7 separate regions of the Homo sapiens genome follow, and all the other regions are linked to region 2. Evidence: promoter capture Hi-C in 16 types of primary human blood cells and fetal thymus (Javierre and others, 2016). All regions are on one chromosome and are shown on one strand. Each heading gives the region's core, a stretch centred on a gene start or on the middle of the fragment in contact. The rest is flanking DNA. Distances are from core to core; before and after follow the strand shown.

Region 1 (3,682 bases), core at 1,081-3,580, 700 kb before region 2:
CGTGGGCACAGGCCCAGGGGTGCAGCCCTCGCCGGGGCCCTGCCCTTCTCCTCCCAGCACTTCCTTGCTCCCCTTCCATATCACTACTGCCAGAGTATAAGAAGTTAAACACCAACTAAGATAAAAAGAAAGACTATGGCTCCTTTCTGCAGAAGAACTTTGATCAAATGTTTGTATTACAAATAAGGAGGTATTTATTTGAGGCTAAAATAGACCTAATTCTAAAATAAATAAAATAAAGCAAACATAAGAGAAATTTTAAATAAAAACCTTTACTCAGCAATTCTACCTTTGTTTAGTCAAGAGAAGTAAAATGCATGTCCATACAACTATTTGTGCAAGAATATTTATAAAAGCTTTGTTCATAATAGCACCATACTGGAGACAGTCTAAAAGTGCATTAGTAACAGAATACATAAACAGATTGCAGTATATCCACATAGTGAATATGTTCAACAATAAAAAGGAATGAAGTACTGATATATGCAATAGAATATATGAATATCCATAATGTTATGCTGAAATAAAGAAACCAAACACAAAAGAGTGCGTACTATATGATTCCATTTATATGAAATTCTAGAGAAAAGCAAAACTAATCTATGGTAACAGAAAGCAGACCAGCAGTTGACTGAGGCCAGGGATGGGGGTGATGGGGGAGATGACTACAAAGAGGCATGAGGCAATTTCTTGGGGTCATGGAAAGGTCTTGATTGAGATAGTGTTCCCATAGTCATATACATTTGCAGAATGTCATCAAAATGAACCTTTTAAATAGGTACATTTTACTGCACGTTAATTATACATTAAAGTCGACTTAAAAGCAAAACATCCTAAAGCTGGGCCTTTCCCAATTCTTATTACTGTAAAGACATAATTGACTTTAAGTGACATTGTTATTTACATAAATGTTAAAAATATTTTTATTTAACATAGATTCTTCATGCAGATACATTAATTTTCTTAGTCATAATTTAATGGAATTTAATAATTCATGATATTCATATGTCAGAGTGGTACAGTCATGTGTTACTTAATGATGGGGATACATTCTGAAAAATGTGTTATAGGTGATTTCATATTTGTGTAAACATCGTAGAGTGAACTTACATAAACCTAGAGGGTATAGCCTGCTACATACCTAGGCTATAGCATAGCCTATTGCTCCTAGACTACAAACTGGTACAGCATGTTACTGTACTGAATACTGCAGGCAGTTAAAATGATGAAAAGTATTTGTGTATCTAAACCTATTTAACATAGAAAAGGTACAATAAAAGTACTGGTATAAAAGATTTAAAATGGTACGCCTGTTCAGGGCACTTACCATAAATTAAGCTTGCAGGACTGTAAGTTACTCTGGGTGAGTCAGTGAGTGAGTGGTGAGTGAATGTGAAAGCCTAGAACTTTACTACACACTACTGTGGACTTTATAAACACTGTACACTTAGGCTACATTAAATTTATAAAAAGCTACTTTCTTCCTTCAATAATTAATTAGTCTTAGCTTGCTGTAACTTTTTAAATTTATAAGTTTGTTAGTTTTTTAACTTTTTGACTCATTTGTGATAACACTTAGCTTGAAACACAAACACATTGCACAACTATACAAAAATGTTTTCTTTCTTTATAGCCTTATTCTATAAGCTTTCTTCTGTTTTTATTTTTTTTTACTTGTTAAGCATTTTTGTTTAAAAAATAAGATACAAACACATTACCCTGGGCCTACACAGGTTCAAGATCATCAATATTACTGTCTTCCACATCCACATCTTGTCCCACTGGAAAGTCTGAAGTGCAGTAACATACATGGGGCTGTCACCTCCTATTATAACAATGCCTTCTTCTGGAATACTTTTTGAAGGACCTGCCTGTGGCTGTTTTATTGTTAACTTTATTTTTATAAGTAGAATGAGTACACTCTAAGGTGACAATAAAAAGTACAGTGTAGTAAATACATAAACCAGTAACATAGTCATTTATTATCATTATCAAGTATTATGTACTGTGCATAATTTTATGTACTATACTGTTATATGACTGACAGCACAATAGGCTTGTTTACACCAGCATCACCACAAACACATGGGTAATGTATTGCACTATGAGGTTAAGACAGCTATGATGTCAGCAGGAATTCTTCTGCTCCATTATTATAATCTACGAGTATTATAATCTACGAGACCAACATCACATGTGCAGTCTGTCATTGACCAAAACATTATTACAGAGCTCATGACTGTCTTAGGAAAACATGTACTAACCATCCGCATCTTTGTTTTTTTTTTTAAGAGTTGGGAGTCTCACTATGTTGCCCAGGCTGGTCTTGAACACCTGGCCTCAAGCAATCCCCCGGTTTCAACCTCCCAAAGCATTGGGATTAAAGGCATGAGCCACTGCACCTGGCCGTATCCTCATCTTTATAGAACAAAAAGTCCATCATTCTTACATAGTACTCAGGCAAGAAGGATAAAAGTTTGGTTGACTTTAAAGAGAAAATAAGATATAACTCACTAGTCATTTTTCTTCTCTAAAATAAGCATTTTTGTATGTGTACATGTACTTTAGAGTACATTTTGTTTATGATTAACTTCTCCAGGTGCTAAGTCTAGTTATCCCTATTTGAAAACACCAAGTCATTTTCAAAAAGTAAAGAACTTCTGTCCCTGTAAGCTATATCAGGCCATCCCCTCTACCTGACAAAATCACTGATGTACCTACTGGTGGAAGCAATTCCATCTTCCATCAGGAGACTATTTCCTGACTTCCAGGAAACCTCCAAGAAACTGTCATTGCCCTGTGGCTATGATAAATTAGTCTGATTATCACATGAAGGAGACAGGTGTTAACTTTGGATCCCCAACCCCACCCACCCACTCATGCCACCTAGAACATCGATGAATCCACTAAGACAAAAATGCCCCAAAGTGGCTCCAGTGAAAGAAGCTCTAGGAACAACAACAAAAAAAAGATTTATAGCAAATAAGCTGCATTCTTCCAGGTCAAAAGCTTTGGGACTTGTTGTCTATTCTGACGGACATTTTCTACCCTTCTTATAATCTCATATGGCAGAACATTTTTTTAAGTTTTTTTCTTTTTTTTTTTAAATTTTACTTTAAGTTTCAGGACACATGTGCAGAATATGCAGGTTTGTTACACAGGTATACATGTGTCATGGTAGTTTGCTGCGCCTATTGACTCATCCTCTAATTTCCTTCCCCTCACCCCACAACACCCAACTGGCCCTGGTGTGTGTTGTTCCCCTCCTTGTGTCCACATGTTCTCATTGTAAGACTCCCACTTATAAGTGAGAACATGTGGTGCTTGGTCTTCTGTTCCTGTGTTAGTTTGGTGAGGATGATGGCTTCCAGCTTCATGCATGTCGCTGCAAAAGACATGATCTTGTTCATTTTTATGGCTGCATAGTAATCCATGGTGTATATGTACCATATTTTCTTTATGCAGTCTATCATTGATGGGCATTTGGGTTGGTTCCATTACTTTGCTATTGTAAATAGTGCTGCAATAAATATATGTGTGCATGTGTCTTTATAGTTGAATGATTTACATTCCTTTGGGTATGCACTCGGTAATGAAATTGCTGGGTCAAATGGTATTTCTGGTTCTGGATCCTTGAGGAATCACCACACTGTCTTCCACAATGGTTGAACTAATTTACATT
Region 2 (3,838 bases), core at 652-3,151:
GTGTATAGGCCTGTTCTACATGCTACCATGCATCCTGTGTATTACTTTATTCCAGAACCTATCACACCACTTGAAATGATCTGCTTAAGTATTTCTCACCCTTTATGGCAAGAGCTGAATCTTAATCATCTTTATATCCCCAAAATCTGTCTCAGTGATAAGCAAAAACTTTGTTCTCTCTTGTATCTTTTAAATTTCCTCGTACATAAAGGTATTGCCAATTACAAAAATTTACTAAATTGTTAAAAAGCAAACAAAGCGACCGGGAGCGGTGGCTCACGCCTGTAATCCCAGAACTTTGGGAGGCCGAGGCGGGTGGATCACGAGATCAGGAGATGGAGACCATCCTGGCTAACATAGTGAAACCCTATCTCTACTAAAAATACAAAAAAAAAATTATCCGGGCGTGGTGGCGGGCGTAGTCCCAGGAGGCGGAGCTTGCAGTGAGCCGAGATCGCGCCACTGCACTCCAGCCTGGGCGACTGAGCAAGACTCCGTCTCAAAAAAAAAAAAGGCAAACAAAGCGTGTGTTGGACTAAAATGATTTCTCTGTTTCTACACTCTATGTCCAGTACTACTTTTCTGACTTTTCTTAGCATTACTCGTAATCAGTCCTTGGACTGCTTCTATCCTTTCTACAGTCATGCATCTTTATAACTCCAACTATGTGTACGGCTCACTAATCAATGTCTACAGTTCTGCCCTTTCAACTGGGCACCAATTTTGAGTTTTCAATTGTTTATCTGAAATTTCCATTCAGATATCTCATTTGAATATGTTCACATCAATCTTCCTGACCCCACTAGCTCCCTGATTCTAATTCCTTGCCATTTTGAACTCTATGTACAAAGCAAAAGAATTTCAAATGGAAAAAGGAATTTCATGAAATGACTCTTTGAAAAGGAAGACGGTGTATGATCAAAATGGTTTTTCCAGAAGAAAACGAGTACAATAAACATCTCTTTCCAGTGGAAAAGATATTACTCTAGGTTTCCTGCTAACTTTGAGAAAATGTACAACATAAAAAATTTCACCCAATTTTCTTTGCCACCGTTTTACTGTGGTGAAAAAAAGCTTACCATTATATTATTACCAGTGGGATTAAGAGGCGGGCATTAGCAACAAATATACCACTAACTTCGGGGTTATTCAATCAAAGAGTCACACAATTTCCAATTATTCACACAGAGAGGCAGCCTGGCCTTTGGATCCAGAATGATTAGCGATACAAACTAGTGCTGACAAAGTTAGCGGCTGCATAATCTTGCCACCTTAATTAACCCCTCAGGATTTCATCTTCTGTAAAACAGAAGGGTGACATCTACCTTGCAGGGCTGTTGTGAAGACGATAAGTATTACATTTAAAACATCTGCTTCTAATTATTATTACTATCGTTATCCTCCCTAAGCCAACCATTCTCACACAGGTGAATAAGTGGAAAGTTGCTAACTGCCCGCACTGTGATCAACAGACAGAAATAAGTCCCTTCCACTGTAAGAGGCAGAAATGTATTGCTTTGACTAAAATCCTTCAGCCCATCGCGGTCCTTCCCTCTGCTCTGTGCTTGGCGGGTCTCCTGCGGGGGGTCGGGGAGGGGTCGGGCTGTTGGAGGAGGTCTGTTCGCAACCTTCGCTCGACTAGAATTGGTACATGCCTGGCCTGGCTACAGGCCCGACGGTAACAGTTAGCTAAGACCGAGTTTGAATTTGTTTTGTTTGGAGCGGATCAGCATCTCCAAGGCAAGAGAACAGACGTGGGAGGGAGGGAGGAAGAGATGGGACCCGGGGATTCTCACCTCCGCCGGCGCGGAAGGAGGGCAGTTGCCCGGCTCGCGGGTGCCTTAACTTCTTTCTGAGGCCCACGCTCAGTTTTCCTCGGCTCTCAGGCCTACCCACTAACTGCCGTGCGCCGCGGCGTATCCCGGCAACGGGGGCGGGATAGCGGAGGCTCCTCATCCTGAGTGACCAATCCTCCGCCTCAGCCCTTGGTTACACACGGAGCTCTCGCGAGAATTGAGGATATGTTTGTTTCTTCACCACGCTTCAGTGCTTTTTGGAAAAAGTGGAAAACAGCGGGGCGGCTGGAAGACAAACATTTTATGTGAACGTTTGGTTTTCTTGATAATCAGAGCAACCTCCGTGTGCCTTACTTGAAGTAACTCTAGCGAGTTTTGCTATGTCCCTAGGTAACCTCACGTCGGCTAACGTTGTTAACAGGTTACATTTGAAGTTAAGTGGTAGGCAGCATTGTGCAATTTTCTAAACTCCTAATTTGTGGTAGTTTTCCTTCCTATTAGGACGGCATAGCGTACACAACGCATCATGAAGTATGGATGCGATTCTGGCACCAACTGTTCCGTTCCTGCTTTCACCAGAAGCTTTGCGTCTTTAAGCTTCCTTTCATTAGAATTTGGATCCAAGTTTGTGGGGAAGACTGTGAATTCAATGGAAAGTGTCCTTTTTTTTTTTTTTTTTAATTTAAGAACTACTTCACCTTAAATCCCACTTCTCTAATAAAATAACTTTTACTGTATGTTTCCTTCCAATCTTCATTGATAACAGCTTAAATGTGATTGCATATGTATTGGGATTTTAACATTATTTTACACATTATTTCCAACTTGCCTGCCTTCGAGGAGTTAAAAATCAATACAACACAAAATGAGATAATGTTATGTGGCTGAATTCTCCCTTAGTTTGTGAAACATTTTCATGTAATTATCTCATTTGAGCTCACCCTATTTGCAGTGGCCATTTGTCATCCTTTTGGCAGAGTTTCTCCCTTACCCTGCCCCCCAACACCCTTACAGGAACTGAAAGTGACAGATACTGGCTTTCCTAGTCTTCCTTATTACTGGGACATGAGTATTATTGCTTGCTAGACTCTCCAATCTAATTTGGTGGACTCAACTCAAACTTGAATGACAACCAGAAGCAGGACTTCAGAGAGTCTGTTGAAGTAAGGGTGACAGCCGCAGTAACTACATCGTTTCCGAGACTGCAATGTTCTATCACCAGCAACCAGTGTCCAGCATCAGTGTGTTGTTGCAAGCTGCAGTGTTAGGTACTCAGAGGCTTTATTGGGAGGAGAACCTCTAGCTTGTTTCTTCAGCTTCTGGGAGAGTCTGTGAGCTGCTTAATGTCCTTTAATAAATTCATTTTCAGCTTTTATATCATTTATAGATGATTTCTGTTCCTTGCACTTAAGGACCCTGACAGATATTAACAGTTGAAATTGGCAGGACAGATACTATTATCCAAGTTTTAAAGAGATTAAATAATTTGCTTAAGCTCATTTAGGTAGTAAGTATTGATCCCTGTCCCCATTTCTTTTTCATGATGAAAAAGGAATAGAGAATAGGAATACATCTCACTTATTTGCCTCTGAGCTTCCTTAGAGTAGGCACCATATCTTATTTGACTTTGGATCATTATGTATTAGGTTCTGTTGCTTTTAAGGTTATATCAAATTGGAATTAGGTTATATCAAGTTGTAATTTGGTTAGTAATTAGGTTATGTCAAATTTTAAGTTTATTGTAAGACTACTTGTGTTTCAAGTTCCTTTCTGTCTCTAGTCCTTTTCACTGCAATTCTCTCTTCCTGGAATCTTTGTCCCTCTGCTTTTCACTGTCCAAAGTCCTGTTCATCATTCAGGTCTTAACCCAAATGTCTTTTATTAGAGAGGTCTTCTCTGCCAGTCCATACTAGATTAGTGCTCCAACTCCTTCTGGCCCCCCACCTCATTATATGTCCTCAGTGCACCCTGTACTATTCCTATCTGTTAAAAGGTAAACTTTGGCACATTAAAATTTTAAAGAGCTTATTTGAACAGACAGC
Region 3 (4,171 bases), core at 1,560-4,059, 750 kb before region 2:
TTAAGACAGAGCTAAGAAGTAGGATGTAATGCTTTGTTCTATCCATTAGTTCTTTCGGCAGTTCACTGCTAAATGACCTTGCTCAAGCTGTTTAATGTGTCTATAACTCATGTTCAGCATTTTTGAAAGAAGAACCAAAAATCAACTAATTGGAATGTATCTACACATACCACTTTGATCAGATATAAATATTTTTAACATCTAACCAAAATCAGCCTACAAACATCAAGTCCATGTATACTATTTCAGCCCTTGATTCTATTAATTCTATTCAACTCTCCTTTTTAAAGCTTATAAACATTTTTTTTCAAACCTGCTTTGGTATAGTGGCCATTTCAAGTCTGTGGAATAAGATGAGATATATTTTGTTCTGATATATTATGCTAAGAAGTGTCTTACTTGCAGGCAAACTATTGTAAGTTGCCTCAATATTCACCGTATTATACATTTCACATTGTTCTGCCTATATTATTAAAGCTTGGTCTCTTGGAAAATATTATAAGGGAATTTAACTATACATAAATATTGATAGGTGCAATAAAATAAGAACAGCATAAAAGTATTTCAGCACTAAAAGTTAAATGTGTTGGAGCCTAAGGAGAATCCTTTACTCTTTTGGTATTTGCAAATGACTTTAAACTCACATAAGATGATGAAATGATAAAAATGAAAATAACAAAATGCAAAAAAATTATTACAATATATTTCAAAAAGGAGTTAGTGGCTTAGAAAGACCCAAAATGACAAAGAAAAGTATAACATTCTAGAGTTGAAACAAGTCACCACAAGTGCTCAAATACTGTTCTCCACCACAAGGTAATGACATTTTTACTAACATTCAGACAAATATAATAATCTCAAACTATTTTAAGATTGAGAGAAGGTTATGAGAAAGAGTTACCGAAGCCAATATATATCAAACTTGGGGCTGACATTTGGTCTCAAATCCCCAGTGTTTGCAAGAATTTCAGCACAGGTGGTAAGTACAATCACCATATGTTCAAACTGGAGACATCTGCAGAATCAGAACCAAGAGACTGTCAACTTAAATGCATGTTCTTTTGGGGTAGAAAATTAGTTATTTTAAGATATAGTGAGAATATATGATTTAGCTTAATCTCAATTCACTTGAAGATCTGAGGATTAACCCAATCTGTCAAGTAGAGTTCTAATCACTGAGGTTCTTTTCTAAAACCATTCCAAAAAGGATCTGTACAATTTGGATGAGGGATTATGGTTTAAAATATAATTTAATTAAAAAGAGAGGTTTAGTAATCCTTTAATCTCTCTGATCTTCAGTTTCCTTTTTAATGAATTGAGGAAGTGGAAGTTGGGTTATATCTCTATAACAAGTCTACAGTTATCTAAAAACCGTGAGAAGCCAGATAGAACATAATCCTTCTAGGACAGTTTTCACATCCAATTGTAAATGAATACATTGGTTTCCAAGGCAAAATCTCAGCCCCCTTGCCCAATTTGTTACAGGAAACTCTCTGCTACAAGAGCAAGCAGCAAAGCCTGTCAAATTAACTTTCAGAAATGTCCAGTTTTTATTATCACCTCCTGAAATCCACCCTTTATACCGTGCCAGAACAATCCTGGTTGTAGCATACTTTTGGAGGTGGCTGCCCACTCATGACCCTCCTTGTCTTCATTTTACTCTTCCCTCGTCACAGTTGATCCAAGTTGGGTTAATGAGATTCTGTTTTCCTGGAATCTGGAATTAGTATTAATAGTTCCAAGGCATTCTCTGTTGGTTGTTTGATATAAAATCTACAGGTTGGATAGCTACACAAGTGTCCATCTTCTGCTATATGCACAAAGAAGCAAAAACAAACAAACAAATAAATAAATAAATACAAAAACTAAGTCAATCTCCAGAAAGAGAATAGGCAACAGATACCGAGAGAGAGAGAGGGTGACAAAGAGAGAGCGAACAAACCAACACCTTGGTTCCTGATGACTGCCGATTGCAGGAACTTGTTGAGACCCCATGTCCAATAAGATACCTCTATATCCTTATAATATATTCCCTTGGCTAACAAACAGAAACTTCAAGCCCACCACTAGAAATGCAGAGGCAACAGCCTCTTACTTTAAAAAAATATTAGATTTTTTTATTAAAAAATCTTAGATGTTTTTTAAACAGCTCCCATAATTGTGAAATATCTAATCCTTATAATAAATGTTTATTCTGTATAACTTACAGTTATTCTGCTTCCCTGAGAAACAACAACTGATATAGGAAAGATCTGCAATTAGGACCACCTGTTTCCTGTACTTTCTAGCCATGTAACCTCAGAAAAGTCACTTCTCTAAGCTTCAGTTTCATCATCTACAAAATGGGAATAATCATTCCCATCTTATAGAGGTCTTTGAAGGTTAGATATACTGAGGGATGTGTTGAAAGAGAACACACATGTAAAATGCTTAATTTGTAACATTGTAAATACCTTTATCACCATCCCTATCCCTACTATTCAACTAAGCATGTATTATAAATCTATTATTATGTTACAAGTTGCACTTATTAATGAGAAGTTTTAACTGCTGGTCTATTCTTCTAGAAGGTACATTAGAAAATAGAACTTACGTACTTTATCTTAAATCAGAGTCGACTATATACTGGCAAGAAGTGATACAACATCCCAACATAGCATCTTTTTAATGCTTGAATTGTCCTCTTTTTAGAGAGTTAATATCTTGACGGTAATTATGCTATGCTGTGACTTCCAACATATGCTTTATTTTTTTGCTAGTTCTTCCTTAATTTTTCACTTATCGGTACTGCACTGTGACATCTGAACCCAAGGAAGCCAATGCAATAATAACAAAAAGTGCTGCTATGACACTCTTGAGTCTAAAGCAACCTCAGCAAGTGCAGCATTTGGAGAGTTCAGCCAAAGGACAACGCACAACCCAGGAAATGTGCTAATCGGTGGTTAAGACTCCGATGTCTCTACCAGCTGGAGCAGTGGTCTTTAGACATTGCTTCCGAGGGAGTCAATAACATGGGATGTGTTAGTTTTAGTGCAGTGAAGCAGCTTTTGTATAGCCCCTTTTTTAAGGACACATAACTCTGTCATGGCTGCAACTCCACGGACAATGTCCTCTCTTTTTAAGCTCATGAATTTCACTTTCCTAACCTGACAAAACGGTGTGTGTTAGATGACACATGGATGTGGAATTATTACACAGGAACCATCGGAGAGACAAAACTGTCTGCTCTTATTAGATTTGATGACTAGGCAACACACACACTACTGATCTAGAAAAGCTATGAGAAAAAGAAAGCTTTAAATTGGGTTAGGGGACTTGAAGCATAATCTGAGATGCCAGTTGCTTCAAAAATGAAATTGTGCCAATGTCCCCTCCAAGAGAAGAAGGAGGCTAGGTGCCTAAAACGCAGAGACACCCCGTGGCATCATATCTAAAGGCCATGCAGTAAACAGAAATCCAGTGTGAAGAGAAAAGTTCAGAACAGAGTGAAGAGGACAAAAAGAGTGAAGCCTGCACTTCCCTGAGAGGAAGTGCCCCCACCCATGACAAAGCCATCAAGCCACTTCAGACACATTCCAGATAGAGGAACACAGTATGCTGCTGCTGTGAAGACAAGAGGAAAGAAATTGGGAATCTTTTGTATCCCATTTAACAAACATTTCCTGGGAACTTATTAAGTGTCGAGCACTATATTCAGTCTTGTTGGAACCAATATGACTAAGACTTCCATATAGAAATGTGTCTCCAAGGGATCTAAAGTAAGGGTCAAAGTTTTGCCCAAAGAAGGAACTTGAAATCTGTCTTGGCAAGAAGTAAGTTATGATTCTAGAGAGTTGTGCCATGTAATATAAAAGGGCCAATTGATTTGAAAGCAAAAAGGGAATGTTTTATACATACGTCATTTCTATCATAAGAACTCAGTCTGGCCTTTTCAGATTGCTGACTTTAAGCAGACCATGTCCCTAATGATCACTAATGCTGATTGATACTCTGGTTGTGAGTTTGTGTCTCTGCAACTCACGTCAGCCAGTTCACATCACTGATTAAGCTCTCTCTGGGTCTCAACCACGTGGGGCCCCCATGAGCAGTCAGCTTTGTCTGCCTTCCCCCTCAACTTTGCTCCACTGAGACATGGATCCAGGGTTGATCTGTGTGACCTTAAGCGGACTAG
Region 4 (4,082 bases), core at 1,186-3,685, 710 kb before region 2:
CAGGAAGAAGTATGAGAAGGGAAAAAAATGGTAACCAATTTAAGACTGCTTTTAAAAACAAAAAGAAGGCATAGCATCAAGGGGAAAATGTATTGGAGGGAATAAGTGGGTGTTGGACACATATGAGCTTATAGATTGAACATCCCTGGACTTCAAGCATTTTGCCCCCTCAGTGCAGAGCCAGCTACTACCCACCTGTTTTTTTTCAGTACAGAAATAATTGTGCTTACCTGTCTCTGGCCTAATAATTATAGCAGAGACTGATTTTATTCTCAGCATGTTTATTGTGGTCGGATTTTCTCAGTTTTCAGGGCAAAGGCCTTACTAAGGATGCTAGCATTATTTGCTTTAACATCAAGCTAGTGACAAGGCTATGCAACGTTTTGTAAAAAGCCAAGAGGCCAGTGTGAATCCAGCCCAGGGGGCTTGTAATCTGTGTTTGACATGCAAATATTAGAAAACCTTGGCAAGACTACAAGGTTTACATGCAAGGGAAGAAAGAAAATACATGAGGCCAATACATTTGAGAATGCTAATATATTTCTCTACAGTTTTCTCAAAAGGAGGAAAATAGGAGAGGGTTATTTTTCCTAAAATCCAAATTATAAGGCAAAAGGTGACCAATTATGACTACTTAGCTTTAATTTTCATGTACTGAGGAGTGTGTGTGTGAGTGTGTGCATGTGTGCATGCATGCCTACATACATTGCATGCATGTTTTGAATGAGTGTGCGTAGATGGAAATAAAATAAACTTGGGATAGTGAAGAGGTCTACCTATGTAAAAATTTTTGCATGATGAATTGAACATTTCTATATTCAGAAATAAACCCTGCCACACGAAACCTAAAAAATTACTACCCCGACTTAATGCAATCTATAAAGTACAGTTATAGAACATTCTAAAATTACCTGCTTATACCTCATGACCTGGCAGAATAATTATAGGCTAGATTCTTTCATCTTTTTTACACTCTTTTTATTGAGAATTAAGAGATTCACTGTATTGGGTTATTAAAAGCCTGACCTCTTATAGCATGCATTCTTATCCCATTATTAAGCTGTGTATATAAAATTCAGTAGGCCTTCACTTTTATAGCTTTAACTTCTAAATTTCAAATTCAAAATCAGCATTGAAGTGCCAGTTGGGTGCCAGGCACTATGCAAGTGCTTTTAAAGGTACTGCCACATTTGATCGACACCCAGATTCCTGGCCAGGAATATTCTGATTCCAATCTAGTAAGCATCCTACGACACCACAACCTTCTATCATTGCCTTGCCATCAAGTCTTGCAAGGATTTTAGACAGAGAATTGGAGGGGAGGAAATCAGCAAAGCCAGATCCATGTCTGGTACACCACTGGCTTTTTACTAGAAGTGTACGCCTTTATTCTTTGGAGACTCCAATTTCTCTTAACATAAAACTGAAGCAAGAATACAGAATTCTTGATCAACTCACAAAAACATTATCAAGCGTCTTAAGTACATTCACCCCTCTGAGGTTTCCTCGATGTTCAAGGTTTGAATAAACCATGTAACCTAAATAAACCATCAAATAAATGGTGTATCCTTGAACAACAGATAAGCTTTTTATTTTTAGATGGGGTCCCTCTGTGTTGCCTAAGCTTGTCTCAAACTCCTGGCTTCAAGCAATCCCCCACTGTCCGCCTTGCTGGGATTAAGGGCATGAGCCATGGCACCCAGCTGAGATGAGTTTTAACAACTAGTTATTTTAACAACGTTGCAATTGCTCAAAATCTTGTGTTGGGGAGAGGAGCAGTCCAGGGCACAGGGAGTCCTCTTTGGAATTGCCATCATCCCGAGAATGCATTCTTAACATCCTCAAATGTTCATTCTTTAAGGGATGGAAAATTTTTATCCTTTGGAAGCACATTTGAAACATCCAGAAGTTATTCAGAGCCAAGGGTGATAAAGTGAGGGATCAAATGGAATATGACTTTCTATAAATATAAGAGGTGACTATAAAGTAAAGTAACTCATTATCTTGAATAACTTGTAAGCTAGCATTGAAGACAATCGCAAAAGAAAATTCCAGAATATTTTGGGTATCTGTACTCAAGATATTTTAGGTAACTGCACACACCAATTCACAAAGTTACTTCTTCACAATAGTTAGATAGCTAAAACAGAGAGGAAAATATAAGAATACATTTCTTCTGTTAAGTAGGTAAGAAAACTGATTGGAAAGGTAAGCCATTGGCCTGGGCCATGTGTGTGTTTGCATATGTGTGTGCATGCCACACACAAATGGGAACTGCCCTCGTTCGACCATCATTTTGAAAGTTCTGCTACTTACCTCGTCTAATTATCTGAGCACCTGAATCTTGAGCATAGCTGTCATACCTCCTTAGAGCATGTTTATATCTTCGCATTCTGGGAGGGATGTAATTTTCTTGACCTGAAAAAAAAAAAAAAAAAAAGGAGTGATGTCACAAGCTCTGCTTTTAATTACAACTATGTACTCTCCAAAAGAGTAAAGCATGATTACATATACAAGGATACCTTGTTTTATTGTGCTTTATTTACTGCACTTTGTGAATACTGCATTTTTAATAAGTTGATGTTTGTGGCAACTCTGCATCCAGAAATTCTATTCAGGGACATTTTTTCGACATCATGTGCTCACTTCATGTCTCTGTGTCACATTTTGTCAATTCTAGCAATATTTCAAACTATTTAATTATTATTATACCTATTACTGTGATCTGTGATCAGTGATCTTTGATGTTATTATTGTAACTGTTTTGGGACACCACAAACCCCACCCATATAAAAGGATACATTTAATCAATAAATATTGTGTTTGTTCTGACTGTTCCACCAACCAAACATTCCCTGACTCTCTCCCACTCCTCAGGCCTTCTTATTTCCTGAGAAACAACAATGTTGAAACTAGGTCAATTAGTAACCCTACAATGACTTTGTCTTCAAGTGAAAGTAAGAGTTGCATGTCTCTCACTTGAAATCAAAGGTTAGAAATGAGTAAGTTGATTTGGGAAGACATGTCAAAAGCCAAGATAGGCTGAAAGCTAGACCTCTTGTGCCAGTTAGCCAAGTTGTGAATACAAGGGAAAAGTTCTTGAAGGAAGTTAAAAATGCTACTCCAGTGAACACACAAATGATTTTTTAAAAAATGCAAAACAGTCTTATTTCTGATATGGAGAAAGTTTGAGTGGTCTGGATAGAAGGTCAATCCAGCCACAACATTCCCTTAAGCCAAAGCTTAATCCAGAGCAACGCCCTAACTCTCTTCAATGCTATGAAGTCTGAGAGAGGTGAGGAAGCTGCAAAAGAAGAGTTTGAAGCTAGCAAAGGTTGGCTCATATGATTTAGGGAAAGAAGACATCTCTATAACAAAAAAAAATGAAGGTGAAGGAGCAGGTGCTGATGTAGAAGCTGCAGGAAGTTATCTAGAAGATCTAGCTAAGATAGCTGATGAAGGAAGCTACACTAAACAACAGATTTTCAGGATAGATGAAATTTCAGTATAGATGAAATAGCCTTACATTGGAAGAAGATACCATCTAGGACTTTCATAGCTAAAGAGGGGAAGTCGATGCTTGGCTTCAAAGCTTTAAGGGACAGGTTGACTCTCTTGTTAGGGCCTAATGCAGCTGGTAACTTTAGGTTAAAGCCAGTGTTCATTGATTATTCTGAAAATGCTAGGGCCCTTAAGAATTATGCTAAATCTTGAGCCAGGTGGTGTGGCACACCTATAATTGGGAGTCTGAGGTGAAAGGATTGCTTGAGCCCGAGAGTTTGAGTCCAGCCTGGCCATTACAGCAAGACCTCCATCTCAAAAAACAAACAAACATATTATGCTAACCTACCCTGCCTGTGTTCTGTAAGTGGAAGAACAAAGCTTAGATGACAGCACATCTGTTTAGAGCACAGTTTACTGACTATTTTAAGTCCATTGATTAGATCTGTTGATTAAAGGAAAGATTCTTTTCAGAATATTACTGCTCATTGACAATGCACGTGGTCAGCCAAGAGCTCTGATGGAGATGTACAAGAACATTAATGTTGTTTCCATGCCTAGTAGCACAATATTCATACTGC
Region 5 (4,001 bases), core at 954-3,453, 670 kb before region 2:
GCCTTAGATGGTGGGGAGTGTTTGAGTGACAGAGGCACTTAGGTAAGAGAAAAGACAAATTAATTAACTTGTCAGATCCTTCCTCTCAGATAACATGAATGCAATAGATTCTTGCATAATAAGTATAGTTTCCCAGGAGTACCATGCATCTATTTTTTTGCTTCTCTTCATGTTCCAATTCATAGTTCCAGAGGTACTTCTGAATTAAATCAGTTTTGTAAAATCAAACATGGTTGTTTAAGGACATTTTACAACATCAAGCATTCCATGTTAGTCTTAAATTTGTATATATGTATATCTATAGGCTTAGTTGTAATGATTTATGTATTGGCAATTAGATGAAAACAAAACACAGGAATTGCTAAAACTTTTATTACCATGAAAATATTTACTAAGATTGAATTACTTTTCCAAAAAATTAAGTTTAGCTTTAATTAAATAACTTTAAATTTTCATATTTATATGTTGTACTTTGTAAATTTGCTTTTAATGTTGGATAAGCTTGATAATATTATCAAATATTAGATAAATGTAATATTAGAAGAAAACTTTTTTGAAAAGATATATAAAAATAATTTCATTCAAAATTTTTATATTTAATTTAAATTTTTAATGAAAATATATCTAAGTTTTGTACGCTTTAAATGTAATTATGTTTGATAATTTAATCATTTACTATTCGTTCTCTATTGCTGCCCTAACAAATTACCATAGTTCAGTGGCTTACAAAACACAAATTTATTATCTTACCATTCTGTGAGTCAAAATTCCAAAATAGGTGTCACTAGGCTAAAATGAAGGACTGCATTTCTTCCTGCAGGCTCCAGGAGAGATCTATGTCTTACTCTTTTCGGCTTCTAAAGGCTGCCCACATTCCTCGACTAGTGGCGTCCCTCCTTCGTCTCTAAACCCAGCAACAACAGGTTGAGTCCTCATGTCACATCTTTCTTACCTTTCTGTCATCTCATCTCGCTGACTGCTGCTGGGAAAAATTCTCCACTTTTAAGGGCTATCATGATTAGACTATGCCCACTAGATAATACAAGATCTCAGATCCTTAACTTCCATCACATCTGCAAAGTCGCTTTTGCCTCATAAAAGAGTCTGAGGTTTAGACGGGAGATCTTAAGGGGGCTATTAATATGCCTACCATAATCACTGAGAATAAGTACAAGTTAAGATTATAATAGCAATAGAATATACAAACGTGAAGCTCCAAAAGAACAACAACAACAAAAAAGGTGAACAGGAAAAAGAAACTGAAAATCTTTAAAAAGGCAGTCTGTTTAAATCTATAAAAACTGGAAAAAAATGAGAGTGGACAAATATCTGGTAAGCATGATGGACTTAAAATTTGTGACTAGGGCATTACATTTTTTATATTAATATAATGAAGATTGAATTACTGATCAAAACAATTAAAAAGCAAGAGAACTATTCTCATCAAATCTGCAACACGAAAAGTTCAGACAAAATTCCAACAACTTCACATTCTGAACTAAATGAGGACTAATTACCAGTTCGAGCAATGAGAATATATGAGGTCCTCCGTTTGCACTTTGCCAGGGATCTGAAAACGTTGGGAGTAGGTCGGCTTCACCCTGAAGCCAGACCATCGACAGCCAGTTTTCCCTCCCTTCTCCACCCACAGGTCTTAGGCCCTCATCCTTCCCAGCCTCAGAACTAGTCTCCAAAGAAGAGGAAAGTTAGAGGAGAGAGTAAATCGTTGAATAGGATGAAGGAGATGTGGGAAAAAGAAAAAGAGAGGCTGCAAGAGAGAGGGTCCCAGGGATAACTCTGCTCTTGGAAGGGTGGCCACAGTCATGTGGTCCCAAGAGGCAACAACAAGCTTAGGAAGCCAGAGAAACCAGTTACAATCACTGCTACTCTTTTCGATTCTGTGTTGTTTAAGAAATATCACCCGCCAGGAGTTCTCCAGAAACATTTTCCCTGATTCCATGTAAGTGCTCAACCAGTGAATGGTAATCCCATTTTGGTTTAGTCTGTACCATCCCCTATTCCAAAATAAAGGGAAAAATGGTGGGTTTATATCTTAAATTTTCTACTTTACTAAACTCAAGGGAAATAGCCAAGCAAAAACGAAAGCTGAGACTCTTGCTAATTATCCTTTCCATAGAATGTTTGCTAAAATTCCTTGTCAAGGAAGGAATAACAAAGCTAGTCCACGCTCTGTATAGGGTGTTTCCAATTAGTTATACTTTAAAGTATAAGTATTTAACAAAATCTATAAATTTTGTTAATTATTTACTTGTAGTGAAAAATGAGCCATTCTCAAGCAAATCACTTTTTATTACACATTCCAGAGAATAACCATAAAAGGACATTTATTATAGCAAAAATAACCACATCTGGATGGAACTTCAATCACCAGTATTTACTAAATAAATGCCCAGAAAAAAAATAGTTCATCTTTAATTTCAGTCATCATTAATAAAAGCTGAAGTACCTCTTCAGATCTTTTGATCATTTTCTGTTGGATTGTTTTCTTTTTACTGAGTTGCAAATGCTCTTTATATATTTTGGATACAAAGCTTTATCACATAGGCATTTTGCAAGTATTTTTTCCAAGTTTTTTTATCTTTTCATTTATTTAATAATATCTTTCAAAGAACGGGAATTTTATAATTTTTATGAAGTCCATTTATAATTTTTTCTTTTATGGGTTGGTGGGGGTTGGGGGTTGTGTTGTCCTAAGAAATCTTGGCTCAACACAAAAAGATTAGTTTCTATATTTTCTTCTAGAAGTTTTATAGTACGATCTCAGATCCATTTCAGATGATGAATAAGCACATAAAAAAAGGATACTCATCGTTAGTCATTAGAGAAATGCATATTAAAACCATAAGGAAATACTACTATATACATATATTAGATAGGATGAAGAGCAACTGGAATCTCATACAGTGCTGATTGAAATGCAAAATGGCAAAACAACTTTAGAAACCAATTTGGAAGCAGCTGTACTGACATGGAATTTTGAGCTGGAAGAATCTTAGAAAAAGAATACTTTACCACCTCCCCCATTCTCTTCACCCTGGGGAACTGTTAAATGAGGAAATTGTGGTTCAAGGAGGAACTTGTCTATATGCTTTCTCAGCTTTCCCGTGGTAATTACCATCTTGATAATATAACGTAATGTATGTATATGTTATCAAATAATATAATATCTTCATCATATATTTATCATCTTCATAATGTTAGCTGTCTAGTGGTAACTTTTTTTTGCTCTTTATTGCCTCCCTCTTTTTTCCCTCTTTGTTGTTTTTTGTCATACAATTATGATATATGTGTATATATTCTCACTGTAAAGATGTAAACAACACAAAGATTATTGAACAAATCACGAAAGTAACCCTTCCTTCATTCTTACCCTATCCAACCCTCATCTCCTCAGAAGAATACACCATTTTAGTTGTAAATGTTTTTCTAGCTCTTTTTCAATGTTTCTACCTATATGCATGTATGTATAATGTATATACATACATATATACATACATATTGATATATACATATATAGAGGTATGGTTTTTTAACTTAAATGGAATTGCATTGTGGATATTGTCCTATGACTTGCTTTCAACCAAATTATATGTCTTGGAAATACATACATATATTTAAAAAATATGTTATGTATATGTAACATACTATATGTGCATAATATATATTACATAGATATAATAAGGCCTAGGAAGAAATTGTGTGCAACCTCTAGTACATCTTCCTCTATATCTACTGTACATACATACAACCCATTCTTTTTTTAATTTTTTTATTTTTTTAGACAGAATCTTGCTCTGTCGCCCAGGCTGGAGTGCAGTGGCACAATCTCGGCTCACTGCAAGCTCCACCTCCTGGGTTCACGCCATTCTCCTGCCTCAGCCTCCCAAGTAGCTGGGAATACAGGCACCTGCCATCAGGCCCAGCTAATTTTTTTTTGTATTTTTAGTACAGATGGGGTTTCACCGTGTTAGCCAGGATGG
Region 6 (3,674 bases), core at 823-3,322, 650 kb before region 2:
AATCAAGGAATGTTATTGTTTATTGGCAGAGTTCTAGAATTACAATTCCATCATTCTGTTTTGGGGAAGTTTCCCTTGAAGTAAATGATAACAGGGCTTGAAATAGTACACCTCAGCATTTTGTTTATAAAACTGTGGAATAGGTAAGGTTTGTATTGTAACTGAACCCAGGTTCAGCTGCTTGCTGCTCTAAAGCTAGACATAAGAGAGGAAGGTTGGTGGGAGGAAAAGCGATTTTAATCGGAGAAGCAGCAAACCAAGAAGATGGTGAACAATAGTCACAGAACCATCTTAAATTTTAAAATTTACCATAGAGTGTTCAAAGGAAAACTTGGTATGGGAGGCATGCAGGAGGGGTGCAGGGGGCGGGGTCTGTGTGTCTTGTTCCAATGGCTATCTCAGATAGTCACCCATCTGGAGGTCTAGTTGGTATTATTTTGAATTCAGCCCAGTGGTGGTGGACTGTCAGTGACTCCTCGCTAAGCAGGAGGATTCTGCACTCAGGGCTCCATGCATGGTTTGTTTCAAGATTGGCCTCTGGAATTTCTCAAGCAAGAACATAATTAAATAAGCAGGCATTGCCAGAGGGGAGTGTCTGGAAAGGAAAGGAATGAAGAGATGAAAGGAAAGTGGGTGGTTAAACTATATTTTTAAAACTGAGGTTCCCAGTTATAGTATGTTTCGCACGCTCCCCCCATTTTAGCACCCCTGACAGAATTTAGTAATCTCCTCATCTTGTCCTCTACTTCAGGTCCCCTATCTGTCCTTGTACTCTCCAGGGTTTCCTTTTCTTCTTCACGACCTTCCTTCCCTGCAATTTTATAAGCTATTCCTATCCCAGTGATTTAGTTTCAGCTTATAAAACTGTGTCTTTGCCATTGTAATCAAATTGAAGGGCCTCTGCTTCATGGTTGGATTCTGTGACCAGGAGACTCTTACGAGGAGTTGGCCAGGTCTCTGTTAGGAAAGCAAAAAAGAACAATGGAGGCAATTATCCCATTGATTTCAGCTATAAATCCTATTTTGCCTGAATTGTCTGAACGATGAGTATTCTGTGAAAATGCTGCTCTCTAGTGCAATAGAACTGCAAATAATGCACATCTATTTCTTATAATCTCATCCAACATACCCACAGAGATTCAGATCTAACAAAACAGAGGTGATTTGGTTATTGAATCATAATATAAATATGGGGAAGAGGAGGGAAATTTCAAGCCTGAGGAAACTGTAGTAGGAGTAAGTATGCTGTGTTTAAGAGGTCACAGATAAAATTAATATTACCAATCCATCAATAGGCAATTACTAATAGCTTACTACACACACAGGAATAAAATGTGAAGACAGAGGAAGTGTAAAATGGAGCCGCCAACTCTACGGAGTTGTTTGCAATTTGGTCTGGTAGAAAGCTATGAAATAAGGAAGTACATGATTGAGAGCTAGAGAATGTGGCACAGGCTCTGAACCCGGACCGTTCAATGTAGTAAGCTCTAGCCACACTGGACACTTGCAATGTGGCTTGTCCAAACTGACATGTGCTTTAAGTATAAAATATAATCCAGATTTCTAAGACTTCAAAAAAAATGGAAATATCTCATTAATAATCTTAAGTTTATTACAGGTAGAAATGATAGATTAAATAAACTATATTGTCAAAATTCATTTGATCTGTTTCTACAGTATAACAAACTTACTTGTGTGGTTTGCATTTTATTTCTACTGGATAACATGGCTTTAAAAATGGTATTTTAGAGGAAGGAAAGCTTGGTAGAGAATGGACTAATCCGGATCCCTGGAAGAAATGGACCTTGAATGGGTCTTGATGACTTGGAGAGGCAGAGAGAGAAAAAGAAAAGTCAAACATAGGGAATTGGTTGATAAAATGAAGGTGAGGGGAGAAGGAACAGAGGGAGGAGAAGATCCAGTTTGAGGGATATTACAGCGAGCAGCCTGAGAAAGAAGGATAAGAAAGGAGAGAAAAAATGCAAGGGAAGTAACCCTTCAAAGCCAGTCAGAAGTTTCTGGGTTCCTCAGCAGCCAGAAAAGAAGCCGTTGAAAAGATCTGAGTAACGGAGATTCTGGACGAAAACTGAAGTTATGGAAGGGAAGTTTAGACATGGGTTATTAAACGCTTTAGCGCATTAGAAGTTTCTTATGTAATCACTAAATTCAGATCCTGAAATAATGCCACAAGAACTATACAGCTCAGCCACCCAATTCAATAAGAAGTTACAGCACAGTCTCACACATATCCAATTAACCTTGGCCTTTAGTCAACATCTGGGTTCTTTTTGTCATTTTCAAATACTATCACCCAGAGGTGCTATGATTTATATTGGGGAGGGGATTAAAAGAAAATAAGTAAGTTGGTGATAAGAAAAAGCTTTCAGATGATTCCATCTGAATTAACAGCCCTCTTTAGTTGTCTAGGAAAGAGGATGCTTTTTCTTGAAAGTGCTTTGAAATGATGATGTGCTTGTTAGTAAACATCAATTATTTTCAAATCGTAATGTTTGCAAGTTTGTCTTCCTGTAGCTCACCCTTTATGTAGGTCCAGAATATGATTGTCACAAATATCTGGGTGAGCAAGACTATGAAATGTGGTCATAAAGTAAGTGATTATTTCTAAACTCATCTTTGTCACTCGTAGTGCTTCACAAAGCACCTTTTCCTGGACTACAATTCATTTTAATTGATCCCATCAGCACTATATCTGTATCCTGAGTGACTTCACAATACCCTCTATTTCAAGAGAAACCAATCAGGTTATGGGTTTGTTAGTAATAAAAATTACCAAGGAGCAGTTTGTGGATGGTAAAAGCAATGCAAATTCTAAAGAGAAGTCATAAGAGCAATAATAAGCATCCTCCTCACTTCTTGGAAGTGAACAATTCCAAGCTCCCTGAAGCAACACTTAACCTATCATATTAAACAGTAATGGACAAATATTAGAAATGTTGATGTCAGCTTTCAGAATCTGTGGGCATCAAAACATCACTTAAGTTCTCCGAAGTATTCTCTGTCAAGTTTCCTTCTACAGTATTCTTTTCCTACTAGGACAGAGCCTTAAGCCCTAGAAGAATAATTTTGCTTGTGTGTTAATTATTTGTTTACTGGTTCATTCCAGAGTGTGAGCTGGAAAAAGGGGGAAGTGTCATAAATAGTTTTTTATGGCCCATGGTTTTTCAACTACGTCACTATTGGTAGCAGTTTCCACTGCAGGATCTATTTGCAAAGCCTAGGAAATTAGCATTAAGCAAGCTGCTAGGAAGACTTCAACAGTAACTAGGCCACAGGCCTCACACATTTTTCCTCCACCCCAGCCTCCTCTGGAGAGTACTTGCTAAACCTCTGTGACACATAATGAAGCAAAGAAAGTGATAGAACAACAGAATTACACGGGCAGATCCTTGTTTCTTCTTCTCTCTCTAAAGAATTCCTTGGACTGAAAAGCAGTTTATTTTGGAGGAGTGAGAAAGTGGTGACAGAATTAGAAGGGCCTGGGAGGGCTTCATTTTAGGAGACAGTTTTAGGCTGAAAAGAGATTTCATGAGTGTGATTTACCTGAGGTGACTTTTGGGGGCTCTTATAAAAAGGAAGTTCATGCTGAATGGGAGGTGGCTTCTGAGATGCAGATTCTGGTGAGCTAAGAGGGCTCGGTAAAGAGGAGGCAGGAG
Region 7 (4,005 bases), core at 1,420-3,919, 620 kb before region 2:
TGAGAAGCAGTTTTCCATATCATACATGAAATAACTAAAGAAACTACTTACAAAGCACTATACCAGTAACTACAATAAAATACAACTATACATGCAAAATAATGCTGAAAGCTGCAAGTAGAGGGGTAAAGCTAGGCCAGTTGCTCAGGGAACCATTCTGAAGTGGATTTGGGAAGTATGTCTAGAAGGGGAGCCATTGCTGTGAGAGTGCTGAGGCTCATCTGCTACTAGTCCCCCACTACTCAGGCATATGGTAGGTCAGTAACAAAACCATCATTGTGCACTGTTCTTTCCATCTAAATTCCATCAAATTATGACCAACCTATCAAGGTACTAGTTCAAATTCTCTCTTCCTCTATAAGCTAGTGGTCTTCTCTAAAATTTAAGAAGATCGTGCTCATCTTCCTACTTCTTGTTCTCTTTCTTCTGTGTTTTCTGAGGCTGCAATGAACTAGGAACTTCCTCTCCCCAGAACTCTGTATTCCAGGCCTTAGATCACTCAAAACTGTTGCTTATAAAGTGCAGAGAATCAACAGAGAAGGAATAGAGGTTAATGTCTGGTCAAAGATGTGATTCTCTTGTTGAAAAGTTCATTAGCTTATTATTTATAGAATCATAAGTCCCAGGAAAAACCAAAAGGAAATATATATTGGATCCTAATGATATTCTCTTTTTTTCTTTTTTCTTTTCCCCCACTCCATTGCCCAGGCTGGAGTGCAGTGGCATAATCTCAGCTCACTGCAACCTCCACCTCCCGGGTTCAAGGGACTCTCCTGCCTCAGCCTTCCAAGTAGATGGGATTACAGGCATGTGCCACCACATCTGGCTAATTTTTTTTTGTATTTTTAGTAGAGATGGGGTTTCACCATGTTAGTCAGGCTGGTGTTGAACTCCTGACCTCAAATGATCCACCAGCCTCGGCCTCCCAGTGTGCTGGGATTGCAGGCGTGAGCCACCACACCCGGCCTGATATTCTCTTGCAAGGGCATTGTTTACATTGTCTATCATCAGAACTGTAGAGTGTTGGCTCCAGGCACAGAACCCCTAGAGTTTTGTAAACCATTTATATCACACTGGCAACCAGAAGTAACTTTATATACTCAAGAATCAAGATTTCACCTAGAAGTACCTCAGGTAGGTGTTGGTTCATTCACATTCCAACCAAAAGATAATGTACCATAAAGTGCATACCGCCTAGTCCGTAATGATTAAGGCAACCACATAAAATCTCATTATTTAAAAGAAATTAAGTCCAGGCACGGTGGCTCACACCTGTAATCTCAGCACTTCGGGAGGCCAAGGAGGGCAGATCACCTGAGGTTGGGAGTTTGAGACCAGCCTGATCAACATGGAGAAATCCCATCTCTACTAAAAATACAAAATTAGCGGGGCATGGTGGTGCATGCCTATAATCCCAGCTACTCAGGAGGCTGAGGCAGGAGAATCACTTGAACCCAGGAGGTGGAGGTTGAGATCGTGCCATTGCACTCCAGCCTGGACAACAAGAGTGAAACTCTGTCTCAAAAAAGAAAAAAAGAAAAAGAAATTAAATGCACTATGGTTTATGGAGCGGTATTCCTCCTCCATGTCCTACATAAGATCTTTCACATGCCAGTCACAGTTAAATCTAATTTGCTGTAATCTGGATAAATGGGAGCTAATCAACAAGCTCTCAGCTCTAGCTCTGAATCAGCAGCAGATATTGCATTTTTGAAATACACTAATAGCAAGAATGCCTTCCTGACAACAACTGGCATTTTTGACACAGCAGGAAGTTTATCTGGATTCTGATATAATAGTTATTGGAATCATACATAGGTACATAGTTTAAAAGGCTAATAAGTCATTTGTTATTGCTTTTATTATCTCTGCATAGTTAGTAAAATTGAGATTAGAACCACTTCTCGAATGTACTGTTCTAAATCCTTAGCTTGCTTGATCACACATGACCCTCACAATGATCCTAGGAGAAATTATTCTGCATGCCATTTTGTAGCTGGGGAAACTGAGGCACAGAGAAATACAGTACTGCCCAAAATGTCATAACTAATCAAAGGCAAAGACAATACTCACACCAGCTCTGATTCCAGAGCCCACTCTCTTAACCATATGCTTTTCTGCTTCCCTAGTTGTAGAGTCTTTTTGTATGACTGCATTAATTATATGTGAAGAGTTCAAAAATTTCTATATAAGGTCTTTTAAGGGTGTCATTCTGGTTGAAAATGGAGGACTAGGCTTCTCACTTGAAGACATATTTCTGTAGAAAAACCTATTTTCATTTAGATGCTACAGTTACTTGATGTGGTTAATAAACCAGTTAACAGAGTATGAAAAGGATAAGGGTTAAAGCCCTCCCAAGCCATCTTTCATGCTGCTAATATGAATCACATTACTAGATACTTAAATATCATTTTCTCTTTGGTTCCCAGAAGACTGCATATATGCTAGAATATTTGTCCTCCTCTTTTACCCTTTCAGGCAATAAAGTATTTTGGACCACTGTACTATGTTATAATTATTGTTTCTCTCCTGATTTTTTTGCTCCAATCTAATGAAAGACATACAAGCTACTATACTGCTACACAATGACTAAATACCTGTTGGATTAGGTGGGGGGAAGATACACAGTCACTGGCTAGAAAGCATCATGCATACAGAGCCATTTTCACCATATATTTTATTTCTCATGATCATGTAGAATTTAGGCTTTGGTGTTGATTATTTCTCTCTTAGGAAACATAGTTGTTTCAGGGTTGATATCACAAAAAAACAGAAAAACCTATTCGAGAAAAGGAAAATTATTTGTCTGTAGGCCAAATTTTGAAGTAGGAAAACCTGCTTTTGGAGTTGTATTCCCCTCCCAGGCACTTAATCCAAGTTCCAGTCTTATTCTAAACTGGGGATGCTAGTATTAACCACCATAGGAGTTATCTGAGATGAGTTATCATCAACTTGGTACCAGGTTGTTGTCCTCTGGACTCAGTGAGCTCTAGAATTGCATGAAACTGGCCTAATTTATCAAAGTATGTAGCCTTGGGTAAATAATTCAAGCTCTCAGAGGTCCAGTTATCTCCTCTGTAAAACATATCTACATCCTAGGGATGACAATATCTACATCCTAGAGATGTCAGGAGGATTAAGTGTAATTTTTTTTAATTGTATGTATTTAAAATGGGCAACATAATGTTTTGATATACACGTGTATAGTGATTACTACAGTCAAGCAAATTAACATATCCATCATTTCATAGCTACCTTTTATGTATGTGATAAGATTATCTAAAATCTATTCTCTTACCAAATTTCCAGTATACAATATTGATATGGTTTGATCCATATCCCCATCCAAATCTCATGTTCAGTTGCAATCCCCAACGTTGGAGATGGAGCCTGGTTGGAGGTGATTGGATCACAGGGGTGGCTTCTAATGGTTCAGCACCATCCTTTCTTGGTACTGTATAGTGAGTAAGTTCTCACGAGATCTGGTTGTTTAAAAGTGTGTAACACCTCCCCCACTTTCCCTCTCTCTGTTCCTCCTGCTCCCGCTATGTGAAGTGCCAGCTCCCTCTTTGCCTTCCGCCATGATTGTAAGTTCTCTGAGGCATCCCCAGAAGCTGATGCTGCCATGCTTCCTATACAGCCTGCAGAACCATGAGTCAATTAAACCTCTTTTCTTTGTAAATTACCCAGTCTCAAGTATTTCTTTATAGCAATGCAAGAATGGACTAATACAGAAAATTGTTACTGAGAAGAAGGGCATTGCTATAAAGATACCTGAAAATGTAGAAGTGACTTTGGAACCGGCTAACAGGCAGAAGTTGAAACATTTTAGAGGGCTCAGAAGAAGACAGAAAGATGAGAGAAAGTTTGGAACTCGCTAGGAACTTGTTGAGTGGTTGTAACCAAAATACTGATAGTGATATAGACAGTGAAGTCCAGGCTGAGGAGGTCTCAGATGGAAATGAGAAATTTATTGGGAATGAGTAAAGGTCAGGTTTGCTATGC

Evidence for each region. The method cuts DNA at HindIII sites, captures the fragments that hold promoters and counts their contacts. A CHiCAGO score of 5 or more calls a contact.
Region 1: a contact is called between a fragment that was not itself captured here and the fragment with the promoter of IFT74 in region 2, in 1 of 17 cell types (fetal thymus). The highest score is 5.8, in fetal thymus.
Region 3: a contact is called between a fragment that was not itself captured here and the fragment with the promoter of IFT74 in region 2, in 4 of 17 cell types (monocytes, M0 macrophages, fetal thymus and 1 more). The highest score is 9.5, in monocytes.
Region 4: a contact is called between a fragment that was not itself captured here and the fragment with the promoter of IFT74 in region 2, in 1 of 17 cell types (fetal thymus). The highest score is 5.5, in fetal thymus.
Region 5: a contact is called between a fragment that was not itself captured here and the fragment with the promoter of IFT74 in region 2, in 4 of 17 cell types (fetal thymus, activated CD4 T cells, total B cells and 1 more). The highest score is 6.5, in fetal thymus.
Region 6: a fragment that was not itself captured here is called in contact with the fragment with the promoter of IFT74 in region 2 in 6 of 17 cell types (total B cells, monocytes, naive B cells and 3 more); the score reaches 9.9 in total B cells.
Region 7: a fragment that was not itself captured here is called in contact with the fragment with the promoter of IFT74 in region 2 in 10 of 17 cell types (total CD4 T cells, non-activated CD4 T cells, total CD8 T cells and 7 more); the score reaches 20.6 in total CD4 T cells.

Annotation. Positions count from the first base shown.
Region 1 is chr9:27,651,130-27,654,811 of GRCh38, reverse strand. No RefSeq gene overlaps it. Among named protein-coding and RNA genes, the nearest start is that of C9orf72, 79 kb to the right of the region's middle. The HindIII fragment of the contact is 1,362 bases long and covers 1,650-3,011 here.
Region 2 is chr9:26,954,475-26,958,312 of GRCh38, reverse strand. IFT74 (intraflagellar transport 74) reads right to left here and starts at 1,901. Exons shown (of 20, transcript NM_025103.4): 1 at 1,797-1,901. IFT74-AS1 (IFT74 antisense RNA 1) reads left to right here and starts at 2,006. Exons shown (of 2, transcript NR_121605.1): 1 at 2,006-2,186; 2 at 2,298-2,533. RefSeq lists a silencer at 328-622 and enhancers at 1,219-1,953, 1,954-2,689. The HindIII fragment of the contact is 1,304 bases long and covers 1,077-2,380 here.
Region 3 is chr9:27,700,589-27,704,759 of GRCh38, reverse strand. No RefSeq gene overlaps it. Among named protein-coding and RNA genes, the nearest start is that of C9orf72, 130 kb to the right of the region's middle. The HindIII fragment of the contact is 974 bases long and covers 2,323-3,296 here.
Region 4 is chr9:27,667,357-27,671,438 of GRCh38, reverse strand. LOC105376002 (a long non-coding RNA gene) reads right to left here. Exons shown (of 3, transcript XR_007061441.1): 2 at 2,317-2,418. Among named protein-coding and RNA genes, the nearest start is that of C9orf72, 96 kb to the right of the region's middle. The HindIII fragment of the contact is 1,618 bases long and covers 1,627-3,244 here.
Region 5 is chr9:27,621,970-27,625,970 of GRCh38, reverse strand. No RefSeq gene overlaps it. Among named protein-coding and RNA genes, the nearest start is that of C9orf72, 50 kb to the right of the region's middle. The HindIII fragment of the contact is 703 bases long and covers 1,852-2,554 here.
Region 6 is chr9:27,600,026-27,603,699 of GRCh38, reverse strand. No RefSeq gene overlaps it. Among named protein-coding and RNA genes, the nearest start is that of C9orf72, 28 kb to the right of the region's middle. The HindIII fragment of the contact is 620 bases long and covers 1,763-2,382 here.
Region 7 is chr9:27,578,447-27,582,451 of GRCh38, reverse strand. No RefSeq gene overlaps it. Among named protein-coding and RNA genes, the nearest start is that of C9orf72, 7.0 kb to the right of the region's middle. The HindIII fragment of the contact is 6,143 bases long and covers 1-4,005 here.